Linked DNA regions of Homo sapiens: regions 2, 3 and 4 are each linked to region 1. The links are contacts of gene promoters, found by promoter capture Hi-C in blood cells and fetal thymus (Javierre and others, 2016). All regions are on one chromosome and are shown on one strand. The core of a region is centred on a gene start or on the middle of the fragment in contact, and the rest is flanking DNA. Distances in the headings are between cores, read along the strand shown.

What was found. Contacts are between HindIII fragments. The CHiCAGO score rates a contact against its expected background, and 5 or more counts as called.
Region 2: a contact is called between a fragment that was not itself captured here and the fragment with the promoter of PKDREJ in region 1, in 1 of 17 cell types (neutrophils). The highest score is 5.6, in neutrophils.
Region 3: a fragment that was not itself captured here is called in contact with the fragment with the promoter of PKDREJ in region 1 in 1 of 17 cell types (neutrophils); the score reaches 7.1 in neutrophils.
Region 4: a fragment that was not itself captured here is called in contact with the fragment with the promoter of PKDREJ in region 1 in 8 of 17 cell types (erythroblasts, megakaryocytes, M0 macrophages and 5 more); the score reaches 15.0 in erythroblasts.

Annotation. Positions count from the first base shown.
Region 1 is chr22:46,261,796-46,264,964 of GRCh38, reverse strand. It overlaps PKDREJ (polycystin family receptor for egg jelly), which reads left to right and starts at 1,622. Exons shown (of 1, transcript NM_006071.2): 1 at 1,622-3,169. The coding sequence starts at 1,643. The HindIII fragment of the contact is 7,014 bases long and covers 1-3,169 here.
Region 2 is chr22:46,021,515-46,024,683 of GRCh38, reverse strand. No RefSeq gene overlaps it. Among named protein-coding and RNA genes, the nearest start is that of LINC00899, 22 kb to the left of the region's middle. The HindIII fragment of the contact is 1,959 bases long and covers 557-2,515 here.
Region 3 is chr22:46,060,369-46,063,537 of GRCh38, reverse strand. The region is part of intron 1 of LOC124905135 (collagen alpha-1(III) chain-like); the gene reads right to left. Among named protein-coding and RNA genes, the nearest start is that of PRR34, 7.7 kb to the right of the region's middle. The HindIII fragment of the contact is 1,600 bases long and covers 944-2,543 here.
Region 4 is chr22:46,124,101-46,127,269 of GRCh38, reverse strand. No RefSeq gene overlaps it. Among named protein-coding and RNA genes, the nearest start is that of MIRLET7B, 12 kb to the right of the region's middle. The HindIII fragment of the contact is 6,464 bases long and covers 1-3,169 here.

The DNA of each region.
Region 1 (3,169 bases), core at 373-2,872:
CTTGGCTCACCGCAACCTCTGCTTCCCGGGTTCAAGCGATTCTCCTGCCTCAGCCTCCCGAGTAGCTGGGATTACAGGCATGCACCACCACACCCGGCTAATTTTGTATTTTTAGTAGAGATGGGGTTTCTCCATGTTGGTCAGGCTGGTCTCAAACTCCCAAGCTCAGGTGATCTGCCCGCTTCAGCCTCCCGAAGTGCTGGGATTACAGGGTGAGCCACTGCGCCCAGCCAGTTGCTTTTGATTTTACAGGCTCATAAGCATAAGCGACTTCCTTTGTCTCAGACAGGACTTTGGACTGTGGACTTTTGAGTTAATGTGAAATGAGTTAAGACTTTGGAGGACTGTTGGGAAGGCATGATTGGTTTTGAAATGTGAGGAGATGAGATTTGGCAGGGGTGGAATGATATAGTTTGGCTCTGTGTCCCCACCCAAATCTCATCTTATAGTCCCATAATTCCCACATGTTGTGGGAGGGACCGGGTGGGAGATAACTGAATCACAGGGGCAGTTTCCCCCATATTGTTCTGTGGTAGTGAATAAGTCTCAGGAGATCTGATGCTTTTATCAGGGGTTTCCGCTTTTGCGTCTTCCTCATTTTCTCTTGCCACTGCCATGCAAGAAGTGCTTTTTGCCTCCTGCCATGATTCTGAGGCCTCCCCAGCCATATGGAACTGTAAGTCCAATTAAACCTCTTTTTCTTCCCAGTCTTGGTTATGTCTTTATCAGCAGCATGAAAACGGACTAATACAGGGGAGGGCCAATTAAGACCACGAGTTTGAGACCAGCCTGTGAAACACAGCAAGACACCATCTCTACAAAAATAAAAAATAAATCAGTCAGGTGTAGTGGTGTAGACCTGTAGTATGGGAGGCTGAGGCAGGAGGATTCCTTGAGCCCAGGAGTTCAAGGTTACAGTCAGCTATGATTGCACCATTGCACTCCAGCCTGGGCAACAGAGCAAGACCCTGTCTCTAAAATCATTCAATCCATCAATCAAGTCCCAAAATATACAGCAAAAATGGACAGAGTTAAAGAATGAGGCCAGGCACAGTGGCTCATGCCTGTAATCCCAGCACTTTGGGAGGCCGAGGTGGGTGGATCACTTGAGGTCAAGCCATTGCACTCCAGCCTGGGTGACAGAGACTCCGTCTCAAAAAACAAACAAACAAACAAACAAACAAAAAACAAAACCCCCAAACCAACTAGAAAGAAAAGAGCAAAGCGACCCCAAAGTAAGAAACCGAGAGTCAGACCTTCCTGGGCGCCCAGGGATCTCACGGTTCCCTCCTGATCTCCCATTTTGTGACTGGCTTTCCCAAGGGTTCCTGCTGAAGCCCCTTCTCCGTGGTCAGCTCTGTGGTCTGCACGGGGCTGAACTGCCCTCCTGAGCCATCCTGACCCTGGGCCTGCACACACTTGGGGACGGAGAGGGAAGAGGTACCCAAGAAGTCCCCAGTGCCGACTGACCCCAAGCTCCGAGGTCCCAGCTGCTCTCTGGGACTCTGTCCCTGGGACCCCTCTGCCAGCGCCCTTCGACGCCCGAGACCCCCACTGTCCCCAAGACCCTCACTATCCCCGCGACCCCGGTGGCGGTTGGGCGCGCCTCGCGGCCTCTCCCAGCTTCTCCTGGGCCGGCGCCATGAGGCCTGGGCCCGCTCTCCTCCTTCTGGGCGTGGGCCTGAGCCTGAGCGTCGGCCGCCTCCCGCTGCCGCCGGTTCCTCGCGGGGCACAAGCCGCCGTCTCCGGGGCGCCCGGTGGCCTCCTCAGGGGCGCCCCGGGCCTCGGGGTGCGCGGCGGCCGCGCCCTCCTCAGTCTGCGGCCCAGCGCGGTGCGGGCGGGCGGCGCTGTCCTGAGCGGCCGCGGCAGCCTCTGCTTCCCCCATGGCGGGACCGGGCGGCGCTGGTACTGCCTCGACTTGCGCGTCCTGCTCAGCGCCCAACGCCTGCCCTGGCCGGCCGCGCCCGCGCTCGCGCTCGTCGACCTGCAGCTCTCCGCGCGCGGCGGCCGCCTCTCCCTGACGTGGTCCGTGCGGCTGCCGCGCTCGCCCGGGCGCCTGGCCTGGGCCTTCCGCCTGCGGCTGCTCGGACCCGGCGCCGCCCGCCCGGCCTCCCCCGCGGCCCGCGTCTCCCCGCGCTCCGCCGCGCCAGGCCCGCGGCCCCAGCAGGGCTTCGTGGCCCGCACCGAGTGCCCCACAGACGGCCCCGCGCGCGTGATGTTGCAGGCCGTCAACTCGTCCAGCCACAGAGCCGTCGAGTCGTCCGTGTCCTGTCAGATAAACGCCTGCGTCATCCAGCGCGTGAGGATCAACACGGACCAGAAGGGCGCCCCCGTGCGCCTGAGCATGCAGGCGGAGGCCACCATCAACGCCTCGGTGCAGCTGGACTGCCCGGCCGCGCGCGCCATCGCCCAGTACTGGCAGGTGTTCTCCGTGCCCGCCGTGGGTCAGGCGCCCGACTGGACGCAGCCCTTGGATCTGCCCCAGCTCGAGATCAGGAACAGCCCCTTGTTCATTCACATCCCCAATAATTCGTTACAGTGGGGAGTGTATGTGTTTAATTTCACGGTGTCCATCACCACAGGGAACCCCAAGATGCCCGAGGTGAAAGACTCGGACGCCGTCTATGTCTGGATCGTCAGGAGTTCCCTGCAGGCGGTGATGCTTGGCGATGCCAACATAACAGCTAATTTCACAGAGCAGCTGATTCTGGACGGGTCCACGTCCTCGGACCCAGATGCGGACAGCCCGTTACAGGGACTCCAGTTCTTTTGGTACTGTACCACAGATCCCAGAAACTACGGTGGGGATCGAATAATCCTGGGGAGCAAGGAAGTCTGTCACCCCGAGCAGGCCAATCTGAAATGGCCCTGGGCCTCGGGCCCTGTACTGACACTTTTGCCAGAAACACTTAAAGGCGACCACGTGTATTTCTTCAGAATGGTGATTCGGAAGGACTCTAGGACAGCGTTTTCTGATAAGAGGGTCCACGTGCTCCAAGGACCAAAAGCCATAGCACACATCACATGTATCGAAAATTGTGAGAGAAACTTCATTGTCTCTGATAGATTTTCTTTGTTCCTAAATTGCACAAATTGTGCAAGCCGTGATTTCTATAAATGGTCAATTTTGTCTTCTTCAGGTGGTGAGATGCTATTTGATTGGATGGGG
Region 2 (3,169 bases), core at 287-2,786, 240 kb after region 1:
GCAGGAGGAATATGGGGTGCACCTATCAGGGGCTGGCTGAGTGGCGGCTGGGCCCTACCTGCCAGGTCTGCTGCTCTCAGAGTGGGCAAAACCAGGAGAGGAGAGGAAGCCTTGATGTGGCAGGACACACTGCATAGTGCACTCTAGGGTCTGGAGGACACCTGGGAAGGGAATTGGCTCAGACTTGGGAGTCAGGGATGGCTTCCTAGAGGAAGTGATGGTGAAGAGTTGGTCTAATTTTGGCAGGGAGGTAAATCGCTGTAAAATGGAAATAACAGCAGTACCAACCTCCCAGGGTGGGTGAGGAGCAAGCAAGCCTGAAGCACAGTCAGTACTGGTGGCCGCAGCACAGCTTCCGGGTCCTCATTTTGCTGGAAGTCTGGCTGTTCCAGAGGCAAGGCTGGGACATCCTGAGGGTGTCTGGGAGGGAGATCCAGTTCTGAATTCTTGAGTCCTTTGTACTCCTACTAGTAAAATATAACTTCTGAAATGAAATTTATGTCATGATTGATGGATCTTCACTCCCAAAGACATGCTTGGAAAACAAACAAAAGCTTAAAAGGCTGCAGCCCCGAGGTGACTGCTGTGTTGTCAGCCTCACTGACACCTGGGCACCTTGGAGAGTCGGAGCTGGACAGGGCTGTGGTTTCTGGTGGACAGAAGGGGAGACTGAGGCTCTGGGCTTCTGGTCTAAAGCCAGGATGGGCCAGGGTGAGAACCAGTCTCCCGCCTTCTCGGTCTTTCCACTACTTCACCGGATTCCTCGGATATTAGCAATGGAAAAGCCATCCCATGTTTGGGAAGGAGCGAGTCATACTTTCCATCCTGGCTTCTTGCGAACACCTGGGTCTCAGTGAGTCCCCCACCCATCCCACGCAGAAAAGCTGGGCTGCGTCACCCAGGGGGCGGTTAATGAGGATGCTTTGGTGGTGCTGACATCACGGACAGGGCTCCTGTGTGGATCGGCCGCCTGGGCTCCAGCTGGCAGCCATGTGACTTGCCCCCTTGGCTGCCATCGCCCCAGGGAGGGGCCTTGGGCAGAGGGGCTGGCTCAGTGGGCAGCTGCCAGGGCTGGTGGGGGCTGACCAGAGGGTATTGGCAAAGTCTTAGAGGTTTCCGGGCCCAGGAGAGAAGGAAGGGAGTGTGGACACTCGGCCTCTGTTTCACGGCATCCTCCCACCTTTGACCTCAGTGGTGCGAGGGGAAGGAACCAGCCCTGGAGCCGCCTGCCTGGCTTGACCCTGGCTTGCTACTCATGGTCCCGTGTGCCTAGACAAGCTGTTTCACCTCTCCAGCCTCAGTTTCCTTCTGTGTGAAATCGGATAACAATCGTAGGGTGTAATGTGGAAACTGCAGGGAATTAGGAATTAGGACGGTGCCGGGCACATAGTAAGTGCTTAGTAAACGCTAGCATCCTGGAGTCTCCCTCCCTCCACACCCAGGCTGTTTTGACCTGTGCTCTGTACTTCTGTTCGCCAGGCCTGAGGTCCCAAACTGCAAACTGCTCCATGTGGATGGGCTGGGGGCTTCCTTTCTGCCTTATTCCCTCCCTCTCTCCCTCCTTTTCTTCCTTCCTTTCTTCCCTTCCCTTCCCTTCTCTTCCCTTCCCTTCCCCTCCTTTTCCTCCTTCCTTCCCTTCCTCCTTTCTTCTCCTCCTTCTTCATCTCTCCTGTCTCTCTCTCTCTCCCTTCCTGCCTTCTTTCTGTAAACTTGATTACTGTCTGCTTCTGTGCTGGTGTCTGTGCTACTTTCTAGAGACAGAAAGTAAAATTAGACAGATATCGACTCTGTTATTCTGTGCTTACAATCTAGTACAAAGCAGCAGGCATTGGCTAAATCAGAGCAGTACTGTCCAACAGACATTTCTGTGTGCTTGAAATGTTCCATATCTGGACTTTCTAGTGAGACAGCTACTAAATGCATGGGACTGTTAAATACTTGAAATGTGGCTCGTGTGACCCAGGAGCTGAATTTTAAATTTCATTTAATTTTAATTAATTTGCATTTATATTTATTTATTTTTGAGACAGGGTCTCACTCTGTTGCCCAGACTGGAGTGCAGTGGTGTGATCTTGGCTCACCGCAACCTCCGCCTCCCAGGCTCAAGTGATTCTCCTGCCTCAACCTCCCAAGTGGCTGGGATTACAGGTGCGCGTCACCACCACCCAGCTAATTTTTTTATTTTTAGTAGAGATGGGGTTTCACCATGTTGGCCAGGCTGGTCTTGAACTCCTGACCTCAAATGATTCACCTACCTTGGCCTCCCAAACTGTTGGGATTACAGGTGTGAGCCACTGCCCCGCGCCCAGCCTGCATTTATATTTAAATACTAACACGTGGCTAGTGGCTACCATATTAGATGGCACAGATTCACAGTTATACTCCCATTACATCACCCTGTATTATTTCTCCATAACACTTATTATAGTTAATTTAAATTTGTGAGTTCATTTTTTTGTACTCTGTCTTTCCACAATGGCGCGTACCATAGTCTGGTTTCCTTGGAAGCAAAGCTTGAGACAAAGACTTGTCTGCAGACATTTCAGCTGGAAATGAGATTCCTGGGAAAACCAATACAAGGACGTTTCACTGAGTCAGTCACAGCTGCAGGAGGCTCATACCTGCTCCTGACGGGGGTTTCTGGGGGATCTCATGAAATATATCTCAGAACTGACCACCTGTGAGAAGAAAGAGAGCATTTCTCCATCAGCTCAACTTGCCACCAGTCAAGGTGGTTCTGTAGACATTAACTTCCAGCATTCCCATGTTGCACGAGTGTGACTGCAGAGGGCTCCACCAGGACCACTAAGTCGCATATTCAGAGAAGCACCTGGACAGGAAGCAAGAGATCTCCAGCATGGGCCCAAGGCAAGGCACTGTCTGGCTGCTGGCACCCACATGAAGCTGGATGAAGCCACTGTAAGACCGGCTGTGGTGGGAATGGCTGGAGTTGGGGTTGAGAGGACCTTGAAGTGGAGCACAAGAGGGGCCTGGTGTAGTCCACCCCTTGCCTCCCTCACATGTGCATGTGAGTCTTTGATGATGTCTAGTCTGCCACAGAGTTCCCTTCAAGGTGGCAGCCAGCAGCAAGATCTGTAAGTTCTTAAAACACGATTATTAGTGGAACAAGCTATAGTCTCCACTGCTGCAGCTGGTCTGAGGTCGTGAT
Region 3 (3,169 bases), core at 494-2,993, 200 kb after region 1:
CTGAGCTGAAAGAGCACAATAACCCCGTCCTCTGTCCTCGTCTGCCGGGCTGCCAGTCCCTGCAACCAGAGCCTCCCTGGCCAGGCACCCGGGGTGGTTCCAAGCCCCACCTAAGCCTCATCCCTGCTTACAGCCCTCTGTGAACCTGGCAGGCAGCTGCCCCATGGTCTCAATATCAAAGGCCGATCAGTGTTGAGGACAGCCTTTGAGAACCCTCACCATCTCATGCCTGCAAGCACTGCTGAGAGAGGGGTGGCGGGGGTCCCCAGCCTGGGCATCAGCATTCCACGGAGGCAAACTTACACTGATCAGATTGGATTATTGCTCCTCAGAAAGGAGAAAGGCTACATAGAAGTGGTGACCTCAGGAGGGATGCACAGGAACGAGGCAGGCGAGTAAAGAGGCACCGGGCTATTTGGCAGTCATTCTATGAAAGGCAAGAATCACAAGGCATGTCTCCCAAGGGCTTTCCTTCCCAGGTGGAGATCTGCACCGCACACCCAGAAGGTGACGGCCACACCTGCCTACCCCCACTCATGGCCCACGGCAGGACCCCTACCCAGCTCCATCCTCACAACAGCAGGGCATATCCGACAACTCCTGAACACCAAGTCTTCCCAAAGCCAAATTCCACGTTAGAATATTCCACCGTGCAATCAACAAGCTCAAAAACAAACTCAACATAAAAAAAAAAAAGTCTTCCTGGCAAAGCCTAGCAGTATTTACAGCTGGTGAACAAAACTGAAATAAGTGAGAATCAGGTAGAGGGCCTTGCCTGGCGGTGCCAGGAACTGGAAGCCTTTCTGCTCATCTTTGGAGGCAAAGGCTTTCAAGAAGAGTCCTTTCTGTGCTTTCCTTTTTGCACCTAATTACAAAAGAAAGTACCTTTTTAAAAATCAAACAGAACCCTTACGAAAATTACAAGTGCTAAGTCTCAAAAGCTTCTTGGGATAAACATTATAACCTTGTCCAACATTTGAGGAAAAAACGAAGAACAGAAAGACGTGAAATGGTCAAGGCCTGAATTTCGTGTCAACGGATGCATTCATGGCCTCAGCATCCTCCTCTGGCCTAGAACCGTTCCCAGGTGCTGGAAAGGTTGTGATGTGGAGGAAAAAGAGGTTGTCGGGGAGGGAGCCCACGTGCAGAGGGTCTGAAGGGTTCCGGCTTCCCTCACCAGGGGAGTGGGGTTCGCATAGATGGAGCGTCTTTTCTTTCCCGTGTGACAGGCTTCCAAGCAGAAATAAAGAGCAGAAAAAGAAAAACAAGAACTAATACACGTCTCCTCTGCATCACGGCTGTCTGAAATCCTTACGGGGCCTGCACAGGGACCCCGGGAGCAGTGTCTCTGCGGCCTCCCCCAACCCCGCTCCAGGGGACAGGCACCCACGTGGCCGCGGGAGTGCGTGGGGACCTTGCGCGGACCAGGAGCACCCGGCCCCGGGGCGGGAGGTGCGGGCCAGTTTCAGCCGGCCAGCTGCGGACCTGGGGGGACACAGGGCCCAGGCCCGCAGCGGCTCTGAAGGCAGGGAGGCCTCGGTGCGCCTCCTCCAGGCAGCCCCAGGGCGGGCACGCGAGGCAGGGCCGAGTCCGGCACCAGGCCTGAGGCTCGGGGTCCGCGGCGGGCGGGGAGGCCGGTCTGCAGCGGGGCGGGGCGGGTCCCCAGGGTTCGAACCGAGGCCTGGAGTCGGAGCCTGGGCCCGGAGCCGCTGCAGAGGGTCCGGGCCGGGGCCGGGGTCCGCCTGGGCAGGGACGAGGGTTCGAGCCGGGGTCCCAGGCCGGGGTCGGGTCGGAGTTGGCGGGCGGGTCCGGGGCCTGCGTCCGAGGGCGCGTCCCAGGCAGAGTCCAGGGTGCGGTCCGGGCAGAGGCGGCGGCACGCGCCCCAATTAGCCGCAGGCCGGGCGGCGGGGCTGCCCCATTGAGGGCGAACAAAGGGCGCGACCCCGGGGTCAGGAGTCGCGGGCTGCGGCCGCCGCTTTGTTCGGCGCCTGTTTACTTTGCCCAAGCGGAGCTCATAAGATATTGACTAAAGCGGATTAGGGGGTCGCGCCCCGGAGGCCCAGGCGGGCTGCGGGAGGCTCCAGGGCCCGCGGGACCTCCCAGCCGGGCGCGCCTGGCCGAGTCGGCCCCTTCCCCGCCGCCCGAGCGTCCCCAGCCTCGCCTCCGCCCCGCTCTGCCGGGGAAACTGAGGCTCCGGCCGGGCGGGCCCGGGAGAGGGGGCTCTGCGGCCGGCGGGCAGCCCGGGACCGCCCGGAGCCAGCCGGGAAGTGATGGGGTTGCCCGGGGCACTGCATTTTAAAGAATTCTGCCCGTCCCGATACGGCAGGTCCTGGGAATCCATTTTACAGTGAAGCAAGTCGCACTTGCCTGAAGGCTAGGAAATATTAGTTGGAAACACGGACAGATTTTTCCGTATAACAAAATCCTGGCACATTATGGTTAAGAAAGAAACTTCTAGTCTCTTAACGCAAGCGATGCGCTCCTGGCGTGAATAGGCAGGTGACCTAAGAGTGCAGAGAAATATTTTAAGGGCAATACAAGCTTACGAAAATAAATGTTTTCTTTCTTTTTAAAAAAAAGAATAAGACAACTGATGAGTCTAAATAAACCACTAGGATTCCCACTCAAAGACCACAATTAATCTGATACTATGAATCCAGGATCTACGGACTTCTCCAGTAATTAACTTGCAGAATCTTTTAAATTGTCCCTAGAAAACCAAACAGGGGAAGCAGAAAGCCCCAACTGAAAATCAGGCACCATGTCTCACCACCGGAGGGTTGTCACCCAACCAAGGATCCAAGAAGAAGACGGGCCTTTTTCCACCCTTCTTAAGGCTATTGTTTAGGGAACAAAAACACTTCCCGAGTCCACACAAAATCTTAATTGAGATTTTTCTGCCCTGGCGTACAAGTATATGTGTTTGGTTAGAAAACTCACATAGTATTGGATTAATAAGCTACCAACATATAAATCTTTTATTAAAGAAAGAACAATATTGACTTACTATTCCTATTTGTTGGTCTAACGAATACTTCTGCTACGTGTATCATCCATCCCCAATGACTGAAAGAAAGCATGCCATTTGTCTCTATTTGTCTATCTTCCTATAATGAGTCTTTAAAAATAGTTTTTCCCTGATTATAAATATACCACGTGTTTAATGAAG
Region 4 (3,169 bases), core at 256-2,755, 140 kb after region 1:
GACTGCAAGGCCAGAGCAGGGGCCGGGAGGAGTGGACACTGGTCCTGGTAGACCAGGACCTGCTTCTTCCTTCAGGTGGAGGGGCCACAACCTCTTCAGCCCATCCCCCGGCCCGTGCCAGCCCATGCAGAGGGTGGGCAGCAGGAGGATACACAGAGCTCCCGCCACCTTCAGGCCTCTGCGCCTGTTGCGTCCTCCACTTGGGAAGGGCCTCTCTTTTTCTCCTCCGGGAACTCCTACTCATCCTTCAAAGCCCAGATTGAGTGTTACCTCATTTGCCTGCCTCACTTAGTGACAGATGCTCACTTGGTGTCAGCTCTGCGTTGTGCATGGGCTGGGCACAGGTGCACAAAGGAAAGAGGTTCCGGCCAGACCCACAGCGTGGCTCTCTCTGGCAGCCACATGGCAGTCGTCATCTGTGTACTTGTGGGTCTCATTGTCTGTACAGGGCTCTTCTGAGACTCACTGGTGTGTCACTCAGTGTGGTGGCACTGAGATGCCAAGGTGGGGGTGGGGGAACCTCGGGGGAGGGGCCCCTGGGCAGGGAGGAGCAGCCTGTGCCGAGCTCCAGCCTTTCCGGGCAGGTCTCTGCAAAACACTCCTGACCTTTCTCCTGGGGCGGCGGCCCAGGGCACACGACGAGGTTCTGAACTCATGGGTCACAGACACGCCTCTTGTCTGTGGGGCTGGGCTGAGCCCCACATGTGACTTGGGCGCCTGCCTTGTGGAAGGCCTTGTGCCGTCACCCCTCCAACCCAGCCTTCCATGGAGAGGTTCAGAATGGATCTCAGGGTGTGGCTGGTGACAACACACCCTGAGATCACACAGGGAGTGACAGCAGAACCAGGGGCCGGGAGCATGGCTGCGGGGCAGCAGTGAGCACCGCGGCCAGGGGTGTGTGGGCTGGTGCCACCGAGCCTCTGTCCTACCTGCTGTGAGCCTCAAGACTGGAACATTCTCCTGGCCCCTTCTGGGCCAGGGCCAGCTGCAGCCTGCCCAGCCCTTCCAGTGCCCCCAAGAGAGGACACTGAGCCTGGTGGAAGATGCTGCTCCCCGGGACAGCAGGGCGTGGGCTGTGCAGCGCCGGGACGGGCACTTGGGGAAGGTGTCCGTCTGCATGGGACGTCTTGGCTCATCTGGGAAGGGAGCATTGAGAGCTGAGAGCAGGGCCGGGGTCCAGATCATCCCAGGGCGGGTGGGGCCTGGGCTGAATGAGCCAGCCGGCCCGGCTCACAGCCACCAGGCTTCCTCTGGGCTCCTGAGCGCTCAGTGCCTTGGTTCGGCTGTGTAGAATGGGGCAGGTGTTACCAAGGTCTGGTCCAGGGCTGCCAGAGGCTGGAGGCTCTTGCGGGCTGCCTGTGGAGCCATGGCGGTCAGAGGGTGGAAGACGCCACTCTCAGGCGATACTCTGAGACAGGTGGGAGGGCACATGGCCCGCCCAGGGGTCACTGCCAGGTCCACGCTGGCCTGGCCTTGCAGTGGGTGCTGTCCCCTTCCCAACACTCTGGCCAGTGGGGCCGTAGACCTGACCCTCAGCCCCCATGCAGAGCTGAGCCCTGGTGAGGCTGTGTTCAGACGAGCTTGTCCTTGGCTCTGGGGACAGAAGGTGAATCTCCAGCCCACCAAGCCACAGGTGCCATCTTGCTTCTCCACAGCTCTAGGTTGCTCCAAGGAGCCTGCTGCATGGTGCCCGTTCCACTGGACTCCACGGTGAGCCCCAGGAGCAGCTGCCGGCTCCACCCACTGGGTGTCCCCTGTCTCTCCCACTGCCCCTCCAGTGGGAACCCTCAGTCATTGGCTCAGGGCTGAGCATTTGACCCAAAGCCCCGCCAGCCAGAGGTTACCTGGCAACTTTTGTGGGGTTGTTTGGAAAGGGGGAGAGAGAGCTTTGCACTGGTGGGAGCTAGCGGGATGGAGGAACGGCAGGCTCTACTGCCTCATGGGGACCCTGCTGAGGCTGGGGCCCGTGTGGTAGAAGCCCTGAGGGGAAGCACCCTTCGATCCAGCCACGCCTGAAGCTGTACCAATTCCTGGATTTTTATGTTATATAAACAAATAAATCCTCTTCTGGGCCTGCGCTAATTTGGTTTGGGTTTCTATCCCCTGAAACTAATGCTTCCCCACAAATTCCGTGTCTGACTCTAGGAAGGACTTGCTTCTTCAGGGGTGGGTGCTCCCTGGTGCCCACAGAGTCTGTTGCCCTCCCATCCCATCAGTATACCACATAGCAACACTCACAGGCTCCATGACAAACACACAGTCACAGAGTGTGGATTTGGGGCTTCTCACTGCTTTTCCTACTCTGGCAAACTCCTACTCATCCTGCAAAACCCAACTCAGGACTTCCGTGCCCCAGGAAGTTCTCCATGAGCTCATCCCCCTTGCCTTCCCCTCACCCCACACTGTCTGGGTCCTCCCTCCTATCCCATGCTCCCAAGGCCCTGGGCATTCCTCCCTTGACTGAACTGTTCCTGGCCCATGCCATGTGTTGAAGGAGATAAGAGTTTTGAGGGCTGCACCACCACGCTGATCGCTTGAGGCAATGGTCATTCTGTCACGGCCAGTCTGCAGTCAAGGCTGCACCGGGCCACGAGCCCCTCCGCCTCCAGCTATCCACAAGTGCCCATGATGCCAGGACTTGGGGATGTCTGGGTACAAGTACAGGGGCACAGAGGACAGCCAGTGGCCAGGAAGCCTCTGGGGCTGGTGGAGGTGAGGCTGGGTGTGCCTGTTTGTGCAAGTGTGTCGGGGCCTCGGGCGCTCCTGACGGGCATCTTCTAGGCTGTGGGACCTTGGGAAGGTTTCTCTGCCTCCCTTCACCTCAGTTTCCTCATCATTAAGTTGGGGAGGTCAGATGTCACAGTCTGTGAGGCAGCCCTGCATAACACCAGGCCTGGTGTTGGTGTGAGCAGAAGCTGGCAGGTGGGATGGGGTGACAGGATGGAAGGCCCAGGGCAGTGGCGAGCCAAGGACGGGGCCAGCAGGAGGTTGTCTGAGGCGAGGACCTCCCGGGAGCAGCGGCCAGATGCCCTGTCCTCCAGGGTGGCAGGGGAAGGCTGCAGGGAGAGGGTTGTCCCTGAGAGGGAGCCCCTCAGCGCTAGGGGAGATCAAGCTGAGGCTGTGAGCCAGGTTGGGGAGGGCTCCTGCCATCCAGTCCCTCTGGCTCCAG